Linked DNA regions of Homo sapiens: regions 2 and 3 are each linked to region 1. The links are contacts of gene promoters, found by promoter capture Hi-C in blood cells and fetal thymus (Javierre and others, 2016). All regions are on one chromosome and are shown on one strand. Each heading gives the region's core, a stretch centred on a gene start or on the middle of the fragment in contact. The rest is flanking DNA. Distances are from core to core; before and after follow the strand shown.

Region 1 (3,509 bases), core at 479-2,978:
AAAAGGAAATTGGGTGAGGCGAGTAATCGTTGGTTTGTTACCTGGTGCCTCTAAGGGAAAAGACGGTCGTAGGAAGACTTTCTGCCTGCAGGTACAATCCCGGCAAGGTGGCTCCAGGTGGCTTTCACAGTCGTACGCGGGTCTCGCTCGTCACTTCGCTGCCCTTTGCCATAGCTCAGCACCCGCATCGTAGGGAATCGGAAAGGCGGCTCCTGCCACTGCCGCCGCTGCCCGCAGGTCGCTCTGGGTGGGGGAATCGCTGCAATCGCCCCATGAAACCCGCGGCTCCGCGCCCGGGGAGCGGGCAGAGGCAGGGCGGCCGCGCACGCACACACAGACACACGCTCACACTCACACACACTCGCACCCGGGCGCGCGCGCACTTGCACTCACACTCGCACACGCACACCCAGCACTGCACGGGGAGGAAGCAGCACGGAGGGAACCGGTCCTTCTCACGATTGGCTTCGAAGCCCACCGGACCGCGGGCAGCAAAGAGAGCGTTCTCGCATAGCCCTTTAATCACGTTTCCTTCAAGTTCTCCTCCAACCCGAATCCACGTAATTCAAGAGCTGGTGACATTTTGGTGGGGAGGAGGGAGCCGAGAAAGGGCTGAGGAAGAGTCGGGGATTTTGTTAAGCAGTTTAATAAGCAATCCTCATTACCTTATTTGTTTTGTTTTGTTTTGTATAGCAAACCAGTTCGAAGGGCTGAACTTTTGGCTTCAAATGCTGTGAACCAAAACGTAAATATCCTTCTGGCCAAGAGAAGAAGGTGTAGATACACGGAAACAAGAGGGCTGCAAGACACTCTCTTGACCTTGTGATGTACCTGGAAGCAGGTTAATATTGGCGCTTTCCAAGCTTCTGGGTAAAGCGATCCACACACCTGGGTCCACAGCCCAGCAGCCGCTCCAAATCCAGCCAGGAAAATGGGTCTGGGCGTCCTCAGAGCTCTGCAAGAACCCGGGCATGAAGGGGCATCGCCGAGTTAACACATTTGCTTCTGGGCAGTTGGATAAAAGACAGTCAAATGCATCAGATAGGCGCGCGCGTACACACGCGCGCGCACACACACACGCAGCTAGCTGGAAAGCGGCTTACAAAACACTAGAGACATGCCAAGATGACTTGAAAAGGTAGCCAACATCCAGGATCTTTCCGGAACACAGAAGGGCCAGCAGGGAGGTTATCAAAGTCTTCTCAAGTCTTTCAATTCTTCCTCTCTCCTCTGAGTGTGTGTGTGTCTGTCTAGGTTTCGTTGGTCTGCCCCACCCCCGTCCAGTTGCGCTTTTTTTTTCTGATATAACGGACCGTGCAAAATGGATTATATGGGTGGGCTGTGTTCACAGCCAGAGCTCCCCAAAGTCAAGGATCCTAAGGGAGCAGCCAGCTGCTAAACAATTCACATCCTCAAGGGAAGAAGGAAAAACACGCTCAAACACACGCAAACACGCGCACACACATACATAGTCCTCCGTTCGGGCAGCTCTGCACACGCTCACCGCCTCCCTGCGCGCCGCGGAACACAGCGCCCCGCCCGCTGGCCACCGCGCTGGGGCGAGTCCGCAGTTCAGGCGCGAGGCAAGCAGCCGAGGTCCGGGGCTGCGGCCGCGGCCGGGGCGGACCCGGGAGCTGGGCTTCCCAAAGCGTCGCGTGTGGGCAACGGCGGCCTCCTGGCCGCGTGGAACTGAGCCCTGCGCTGCAGCATGAAGGCGGCGGCGGCGGCGGCGGCGGGCGCGCGGCCGTGAGCTCAGCCCGCGCTGCAGTGACGGGAGCGGCCGTGTCGGCCAGACCCCGAGAGTCCGTGAGACCCCGGCCGGGGCCGCTCCGCTGCTGTCAGCCCTCGGGCCTCCCAGCCAGACTGGTTCTGAACCGATTTATCAGGGGGTTGCGGAGAGGGCCGGCGAAGCGCCAGGAAATCCCCAGGCTGAGGAGGCGCGGGGGCGTTGCAGGAAGGGGGAAGGGAAAAGGCAGAAAACCTGGAGAATGAAAGCGAACTTCCAGGGGCGTCCCCAGCCTCCTGCAAAAGGGCAATTTGCTGATCGCCCACTTCCTCGCAGTTACGGGATAGAGAGAATCATCACTGAGTCAAGCTTCGGCTGCTTAGGGCGGTGGGAAAAGTCATTATCTATAATAACCCGCCGGAAATTTTGAGGAGAGCTACTGACTTGGGGGTTTCAGTCATCTGAGGCTGGCTTCCGCTGTCCCCTTAGTTGTGGGTGGTGATTTGCTTACTAATCAGATGGGAGCGGATTCTGAAAAGAACATTTATATTTGGGAATCAACTCAGCTCAGCATCAGACATTACGAATACTGCAGTTGGTCACATTTTACTATGTGAAGGGCAGAAAGGGAGCCCAACAGTCTTCATAAGCCAGACCTAGTCTCTAAGGTCACCGGCACAGACGCAGGGTCTAAAGCAGGAAAGAGGTGCGACTGGAAAGGAGGTTAGACAGGGCCCTGCGGGAATGGATCTGCCCGGAGCCCTCGCCTGGTTTTGCTTGAGACTCCGACAAGACTCCCAATGCTTCTCTCCCCGACCCTATCCCCACTCCCTCCATCCTGGAAAAGCCAGTGAGCAAAGTTAACTCTTTCTTCTAAGAAACCCTGAGTGAAATCTTGCTCTTCCTTTCTGCTAGAGTCCTGAAACCCTTTCGCTTCTCATTGTGGGTTCACCAGCACGTGGTCTTCGGACACTGAGAGCACCTTCGCTCTCAGCTGTGATCCTAGCTAGCCCAGACACCAGTCTGTACCCAAAGGAAGAGTAGGAAGTTGCAAAGGGAAGCTGGCTAACAAGGGCTTCTTCTGCCCTACTTGGCAAAGGCCCATACGGGTGGCCTCCGTGGATATGGAGCTCCTTCATTTTGTTCCAAAAAGAGCTCTGCCAGGCTTTACCATTGCCCTGGAGGTGCACAGGCGCCCGTATACTCGAGCACAACCATGGGCTCACCCCAAGCGCGCACACCTGCACCCACGCGTAAGGAAGAACCACACAGCTATCTCTGTCGGGGAAGAACACGAGGAGTGAAGTGCTTTAGGTGGAAACTCCTCACATCTCCTTTCTTTCCTCTGCTCCCCCTCTCTGCCCCTGGTACTCCGGATCCAATCCTTGGCTTAGGAATCCACTCAAGCCACGTCTGGCTGCTTTGTTCCAGAGGAGCGCAGCTCCGAGACTGCACTTCAGCGGTGCAGCCTCCCTCCAGGTCGGCGAGCGGCGCCAGATCCGGGACTTCAGGGTCTCCGCGGGAGCTTAGGAGGCTCAGGATCTGAGTTGGAGAGCTGGAAGGCCAAACTCCGAGCCGCTGAGGGACTGCGCAGGAAGACCACAGAAATAAACCAAAGGGACACCGCGGACAGATGTACCAGAGGACACCACTGAAGTCCAGGAGAATCTCCACCAAAACCATCAGCGTTTTCCTTGTAGCTTTCTGTCCCTCGAAGTGGAAAGTTGAGGTTTCTGAGAAGTCCACGGAGAGAACCTGCAGCAAACTGAAGCCACAGACTCCG
Region 2 (3,509 bases), core at 514-3,013, 3.2 Mb before region 1:
CTTAAGGTATAGAGCAGGCTTTAGAAAGTATCTGTGCTTATAGACTGGTTTGCTACCTCCAGGGCTTTGAGACCGCACACAGAGGCTATGGAATAGACCACTACCTGGGAGTTGTGGTGACAAACCCATTTTTCTCCTGACACAGAGAGGTTATGGAAAGACTGACCAGCAGGATGTTCGAAGACTACCAAACTTTCCATAAAATGGAACCAGCAGCTGGATGCACCAGCACCAGAAGCCAGGTCAGTGGGGATGCAGGCAGCCAGGGCCAGAAAAAAGGGACTGTGAACCAGTTGTGCAACCTCTGCCTCACTTGATGAAAGGGGCAAACTCAGTCCCTCAAGCCCTTTTATAATGCACAAATCCAGAGGGCAGAGCCCTCATGGCCTAATCACCTTCTAAAGGCCTCACCTCTTAATATTGTTGCATTGGGGATTAAGTTTCCACATAAATTTGAAGGGGACACAATTATTCAAACCAAGCAGTAACCCGCTAAGATATAGTCTGTTATGGTTTAATGACATAATCAAATCGAAAATTTTAGAACTCTTATTCTACATGGGACATTATTTTTATAAATGACTGACTTTATATTGTTTAATTACTAATTCTTGTGAATTCATTATTAACTAATTATAATAGCATCCAAGGGTATTCCAAAGAGGTTCCTAGAATTAGCGAGTTTTAAATGGTGGAAATTTCCAACCCTCATGGCAAGAGGAGTAATTTTGAAAGGCTGAGCTGTTTAGCATACACCTAACTTTGTACCAGGTGGTGATCCTGGATTTTTACTCACGTATAAAATCAGCCTCTTTATAGACTCAGTCTGATAGCAACAATATAAACATATGCATGAAAGGCTGGGCTATCACAATTATACATTAATAAGGTAGCATTCATGTTGTATATTAATGTGTTTCTGCAAGTATTTTTGTTTGATTAAATGAAAAAAAAAGCCTGAACTATATTTTGAAATGCATTTGGTGATGAAAGAGGATTGGGTTAGAGGCAATTTACCTATCAGTTCCTTTTGGAGGTACAGCTTAGAGATCTCAGAGCTATAAAGTAGAAATTGCCTGGCAGTCCTGCCTCATTGCTAAGGTGACAATGAGAGTGTCAGATGGGCACCCTCCCTGGATGACCTGAAGCATTAGTGGGTCTTAGTCACTTCATATTAAATAGAACATGTAACAAACACTCACTTCAAATGAAAGGGAAGGCAGTGCACTGGAGATCTAATTCTTCCCTCTATTTAATGGACTCTTAAATTCCTGAATCATTTGGTTCTAAATTCTTTGGTTACTGCTGCTGTGGAAGAGTAATGGTAGAAATGTATTCTTTTGTGCATGTGTGGTTTTTCAGATTACAAATGAAGCTTCTTTTCTCTTTTTCCTTATTGTCAACTAAGCTTAAATAGTAGCATCGAAAGCTCTCTTCTTCACTTTAGATGCTAGTGACACTTGTGAATTTATGATTGCTAACACTTAAACTCTGAGCAAAACACAAACCCACCTCTAGCTGTTGATAATTGATTACTTAGACAGCTGGATTCAGTCTTCATTTTCATTCTGTAGAGTTTGAGTATTGACCAAACTGCTTCCTGCAATATGCAAGCTCTCTTTTGATAGCATCTTTCTTAATTCACAGTCAAATCTTAAAATGTCTAAAATGCATACATACATATATATTTGAATTTTCATTACTTATGTGTTTATAAAGCTAGATAGGAATAAATTATTCCAACTGCACCCAAATTAGTCTTTTGGTTAGCTTGCTTTGTGATGAGAAGAATGGTTTTGTAAGAGATGGAAATGAGAGGAGTGATATGTGAACTGATATCTGATCTTGTAGGCATGGCTTTGTGTGCTTCAGACAGGAAGAAAAAGAAATAAACTCAAAAGACAGAAAGCAGCAGTTTAGAAATTATGTTATTATCGCTAATTTGGAAACTTCTTGACTTTGTGAAGTGGGAAATTTATACAAATAGAGTATGTGCTGGTAATTCAATTCCCTAATCTGCAGTCAAAAATTTACTGCAGAACTGAGAAGGCGAGCAGAGTTGTCTCCTGTCTAGGTGCATGGCTGGATTAGGCAGTGAATGGACTATTGGCAAGCTTAGGAGACCAGTAAAGAACCACCTGCCTCCACTACTGAAAAGAGAATTCTAAACCTGAACTTTGAAGGTAGAACAGTTAGACAGAGGTTATTTTAATTTTAGTATGTGTGTGATTTTTTGATGTCACTTTGAAAAATTCCATGTGAAGGGTTTAACCTTTTCAGTGTTCAGGCCTCTAAAGAGCCTAATCTGGCCCTTCATTGGTTGATGTAGTCCCACATAATGAAATTTGAAGGGATCTCAATGGTATCCTATCTAAAAATATCTAATAAAGACTTTCAGACTCAGATATTGTCTTCCAAAATTCTCTGTGACATGTAAGTAAGAAGTGGAGAGCTTATATATCATGATTCTGGTGTGTGTGTGGAGGAGGGGATGAGAGATTGGGAGGGGAGGTTCTGATTCTTATGAGAAAAATAAACAGATGATATGATTTGGCTCTATGTCCCCACCCAAATCTCATCTTGAATTGTAATCTCCATAATCCCCACATGTTAAGGGAGGAACCTGGTGGGAGGTCATTGGATCATGGGGGCAATTTTCCTTTTGTATTCTCATGATAGTGAGTAAGTCTCATGAGATCTGATGGTTTTACAAAGGGCAGTTGTCCTGCACTGGTGCTTCTCTCTCTCCTGCAACCTTATGAAGAAGGCGCCTTGCTTCCCCTTTGCCTTCTGCCATGATTGTAAGTTTCCTGAGGCTTCACCAGCCATGCAGAGCTGTGGGTCAATCAAACCTCTTTCTTTTATAAATTACCCAGTCTTGGGTAGTATCTTTATAGCAGTGTGAAAACGGACTACTACAATAGAGTAGGGGATAGATTATATTTTCCAAGAAGCTATGATAGGGTTATATTGTTCATGTCCCTGATTCAGTATTTATTCAATATATACAGAGCATCCTTTGGTACTTAAAATATAAGTATATTGGAGTAAGTAGGTATCATTTAGGGAGTCAAGATGACTTCAAATATGCATGTGTGATTACCAAGGTAGTTCAGTATTTGATTACCAAGGTAATATATAGTTAGTTATTATAAAAATTTTTCAAATATCTAAATAAAAAAATTATTAATCCACCACCAAGAGATAGCTGCTATTAATGTGTGTATGTGTATGGTGGTGTGGGGTGGTGCGTGGTGTGTATGTGTGTGTGTGTGTATATATATATATGTATAATTGAAATCATATTTGTAGCTATGTGTGTGTCTAGAAGAGGCTGTGGAGTACTGCCTAGATTCTCTTCTTTATTTTACTTTTTAAAAAATAATAAAAGAATTTTTTAAAAGTTTCTTGCCATTTTGCTTTATTTTTACATTTGTGCTATAATGGTATTTTAAACTGAGATTAAAATGTTTGTATTACCATAGTCCTAATATAGTGCTAAGCTTGGT
Region 3 (3,509 bases), core at 329-2,828, 3.2 Mb before region 1:
ATGAATGTGAAGGACCAGGATGTTACTGTACACTACTGTGGAATTTATAAACACCGTACAGTTAGGCTATACCAAATTTGTAAAAAGTATTTCTTTCTTCAGTAATAAATCAAACTTAGCTTACTATAACTTTTTTTAACCTTATAAAGTTTTAAAATATTTTAAAACTTTTTGACTGTTTTGTAAAAATACTTAGTTTAAAATACATTGTACAGGTATGCAGAAATATAGTACAGCTATACAAAAATATTTTTTCTTTATATCCTTATTCATAAGCTTTTTCCATTTTAAAATGATTTATTTCTTTACTATTATTTTTTAAAAAACTTTTTTGTTAAATAAACAAAAATAACACAAATACACACATTAGCCTGGGCATACTGATATGGTTTGGCTGTGTCCCCACCCCAATCTCATCTTGAATAATAGCTCCCATAATCCCCAGATGTCGTGGGAGGGACCTGGTGGGAGGTAACGGAATCATGGGGCAGGTTTTCCCCATGCTGTTCTCGTGATAGTGAATAAGTCTTATGAGATCTGATGGTTTTATAAAGGGCAGTTCCCCTGCACATGCTCTCTTGCCTGCCACCATGTAAGACGTGCCTTTGCTTCTCCTTCACCTTCTGCCATGATTGTGAGGCCTCCCCAGCCATGTGGAATTGTGAGTCCATGAAACCTCTTTTTCTTTATAAATTACCAAACCTCGGGTACTTCTTTATAGCAATATGAAAATGGACTAATACAAATACGGAGGATCAGAATCATCAATATCCTTGTTTTCCACCTCCACGTCTTGTCCCACTGGAAGGTCTTCAGGGACAATAACATGCATGGAGCTGTCCTCTCTCCTATGAGATATATATATATATATATATATATATATATATGTATTTCTCTTTCTGGATCCTTCTATAATCTTTCTTATCAGTGTTCTGAACTTCACAGTGATGAGTCTTGGGGGGTGTGTGTGTGTGTGTGTGTTTGTGTGTATGTGTGGCTTGTTCCTAACATTGGGCACTTAGTTGCCTTTTTAATCTGGGATATATCCTTCCATTTCTTATAGATTAGGAAATTGAGAGTAAGGCAGTTAAATAACCTGCCAGATCACACAGCTAAGTGACAGAGCCAGGACTGTTTGACTTCCGAATTCTGTGTGTAGTGCATAAAGTTTAGCATAGCACTTTTGCTTGTCCCTATTTAAAGTGCCCAGGTGGATACAGACAAAAGTGACTCAAGGCACATGCTGAAGGAACCCAGTGCTTCTAAAGTATTTTCTTTGCTTTCACGAAGTCTTTTGCAAAATAGTTTTGTAGACCTTAATATTCTTATTTTTCTCAACTTTCAGCCTTTCTTAAAGCTTCCTCTTCCCTTTATAGCCTATCAACCACTCAGCTCACACACATCAGGGTCCCACATGCTTGATATGTGCCCATCTAACAGCTAGTATTCTCACTCAGCATGGATATTAGCACATCTAAAACTCACATCTACAGTTACTGCCATTTCCTGCACAGGGGTTATAATATCTATACATATGTGAGAAGAGGGAGTTTGCCACAAAATATTACAGATTTTTAGTCTGTAGCTTGTGATTGCACAGTTTGTTCATAGGCAAAAACTTGTTAGCAATCTAAGTTCATTTAGTTTTATTTGTTGTTCCTGTAAATTAAAAAGTTAGGGATAACTACATTTTGATACTCCCTAAGCCACTTCTGACAGAATAAGCCTAATACACATCTGAAAATGACACTTGTGTAATCGCTTATAAAACAAAACTGGGGATTAAGACTATAAGCTTGCATTTTGATGTTCAAATACATAAAAGGAACCAAAATAATAATGCGGATATCCTTTGTTACACAGAAACTGCTTGTGTAGAATTTTGGAGATTACAGAATTAAAAGGCCAAGGAAAGGCCTTGATATCCAATGAGTCAAATGAAAAATAAAAGTAGGATGGATTTGCATTTTACTCTGTTTTCAGGCTTAATTTAAATACTTACTTTTTCCAAGATACTCAAAGAACATTATATATTTAAAGAAAGAAATGCTTAGACCATCTGTTGATATTGGTGAATCTGCTTCTCCAGCAGTTGATGTGATTTGCTGTTCTGTTAACAGAACTTTGCTTTCTTTCTTCATGTCCTTGGTTCAAGCTGACCTTTCTATGCCTTTCTTTTTCTCAAATCCTATTCATTTTTTTCAAGGACACCTCAATCCCCCTCTCACTTTGAATCCTTTGCTAATAACCTTGGTTTAGAAGTTTTTCTTCTTAACTCATGGAGTTTTTGTTCTACATATTTGGCTTATTTAACTATTGTTTACAAGTCAGTAGTGCTAAATATGTCTCTGTGGATTTATGTCTTTCATTTCCTATCACTGGGTAAGTACCTTGGCTACCTGTCATTGGCAGTGCCTTGCTTATGCACAGTTAAATATCTGTAGAATAACAGATTCACATTTTTAGCCATGCTTCATTTGAAGAGATCATAGCACTGAGAACTTGCTTTAAACAGCATAACATCATGGTTAAAAGTGCAGGGTATGGAGGCCACACTGTCAGGTCTGAATCTTGGTTTTACTGCTTACCAGTTGTGTGATGCTGGGCAAATTACTTAGCTTCATGTTGCTTAGTTTTCTTGTAAAGTGATAATGACACTCACCTGCTAGGATTGGCAGACAGATTGAATGAATTAATAGTTTTAGGGTATTTGAAACAATATCTGCTATGTAAGTATTATAGAAGCATATGTTGTAAGTTTTTTTAGATAAAGTTCTATAAAAGAGACAGTTGTCATCATTTATTTACTTAAAATACTGTGGACCTATAAAGTAGGCTAAATCAAATGGTTTTACTTTGAAAACAAGCATGAACATGCTAAAATCCATTCTCTCATCTTCTACAATAGTGAATTCACAAATGCTAAAAGTATCTGAAGGAGGTGGCACCACACCTACTCTGGCATTCTTAGCTGTGAAGAGGTGATGATGGCCACCGCAGGCCATATTCAAACTCCTGTGCAGGATAGGAGAGCTCCTCTTCCTTTTTTGATAGCAGCTTTTCCAAAGGTAGCTGAATTCTCCAACTGGGTAGTTTGAATGCAGTCAGATTCCCTGTGGGAGAATAATAGGATAAATGACTCACCCCAAGCTCATAGGCAGTCAAGTTATATTTGTTTTAGAGCAACAAGTTTTAACATTTTGATGCAGTAGATTTTAGTATTTTCATATAGACATTCCAGTGGGGCAATTGGAGTGACATAAAGTCTATCAAAATAAAATTTGCATTTTGATACACATTACAAACCTCAATCCACTATTTCTGACCCCTAAGAATATAACCCTTTTAAGGTATACCCTTTCAGACATACTCTGAAATTGAGACAGGTGCTTAATTTTCTTCACACAAGCAAGACTCTTTCAGAAAATTACTTGTATAACAGAATAAAAATCTTCTAAAGGTTGAAACTGGTACTTAATATGTGTAGCACATTTTTGAAAATCTGAGAT

Evidence for each region. The method cuts DNA at HindIII sites, captures the fragments that hold promoters and counts their contacts. A CHiCAGO score of 5 or more calls a contact.
Region 2: a contact is called between a fragment that was not itself captured here and the fragment with the promoter of LRFN5 in region 1, in 1 of 17 cell types (M0 macrophages). The highest score is 5.4, in M0 macrophages.
Region 3: a fragment that was not itself captured here is called in contact with the fragment with the promoter of LRFN5 in region 1 in 1 of 17 cell types (endothelial precursors); the score reaches 5.0 in endothelial precursors.

Annotation. Positions count from the first base shown.
Region 1 is chr14:41,605,095-41,608,603 of GRCh38, reverse strand. LRFN5 (leucine rich repeat and fibronectin type III domain containing 5) reads right to left here and starts at 1,728. Exons shown (of 6, transcript NM_152447.5): 1 at 42-1,728. The HindIII fragment of the contact is 1,232 bases long and covers 866-2,097 here.
Region 2 is chr14:44,815,251-44,818,759 of GRCh38, reverse strand. No RefSeq gene overlaps it. Among named protein-coding and RNA genes, the nearest start is that of LINC02302, 18 kb to the right of the region's middle. The HindIII fragment of the contact is 706 bases long and covers 1,411-2,116 here.
Region 3 is chr14:44,788,426-44,791,934 of GRCh38, reverse strand. The region is part of intron 2 of LINC02302 (long intergenic non-protein coding RNA 2302); the gene reads left to right. Among named protein-coding and RNA genes, the nearest start is that of LINC02302, 8.9 kb to the left of the region's middle. The HindIII fragment of the contact is 438 bases long and covers 1,360-1,797 here.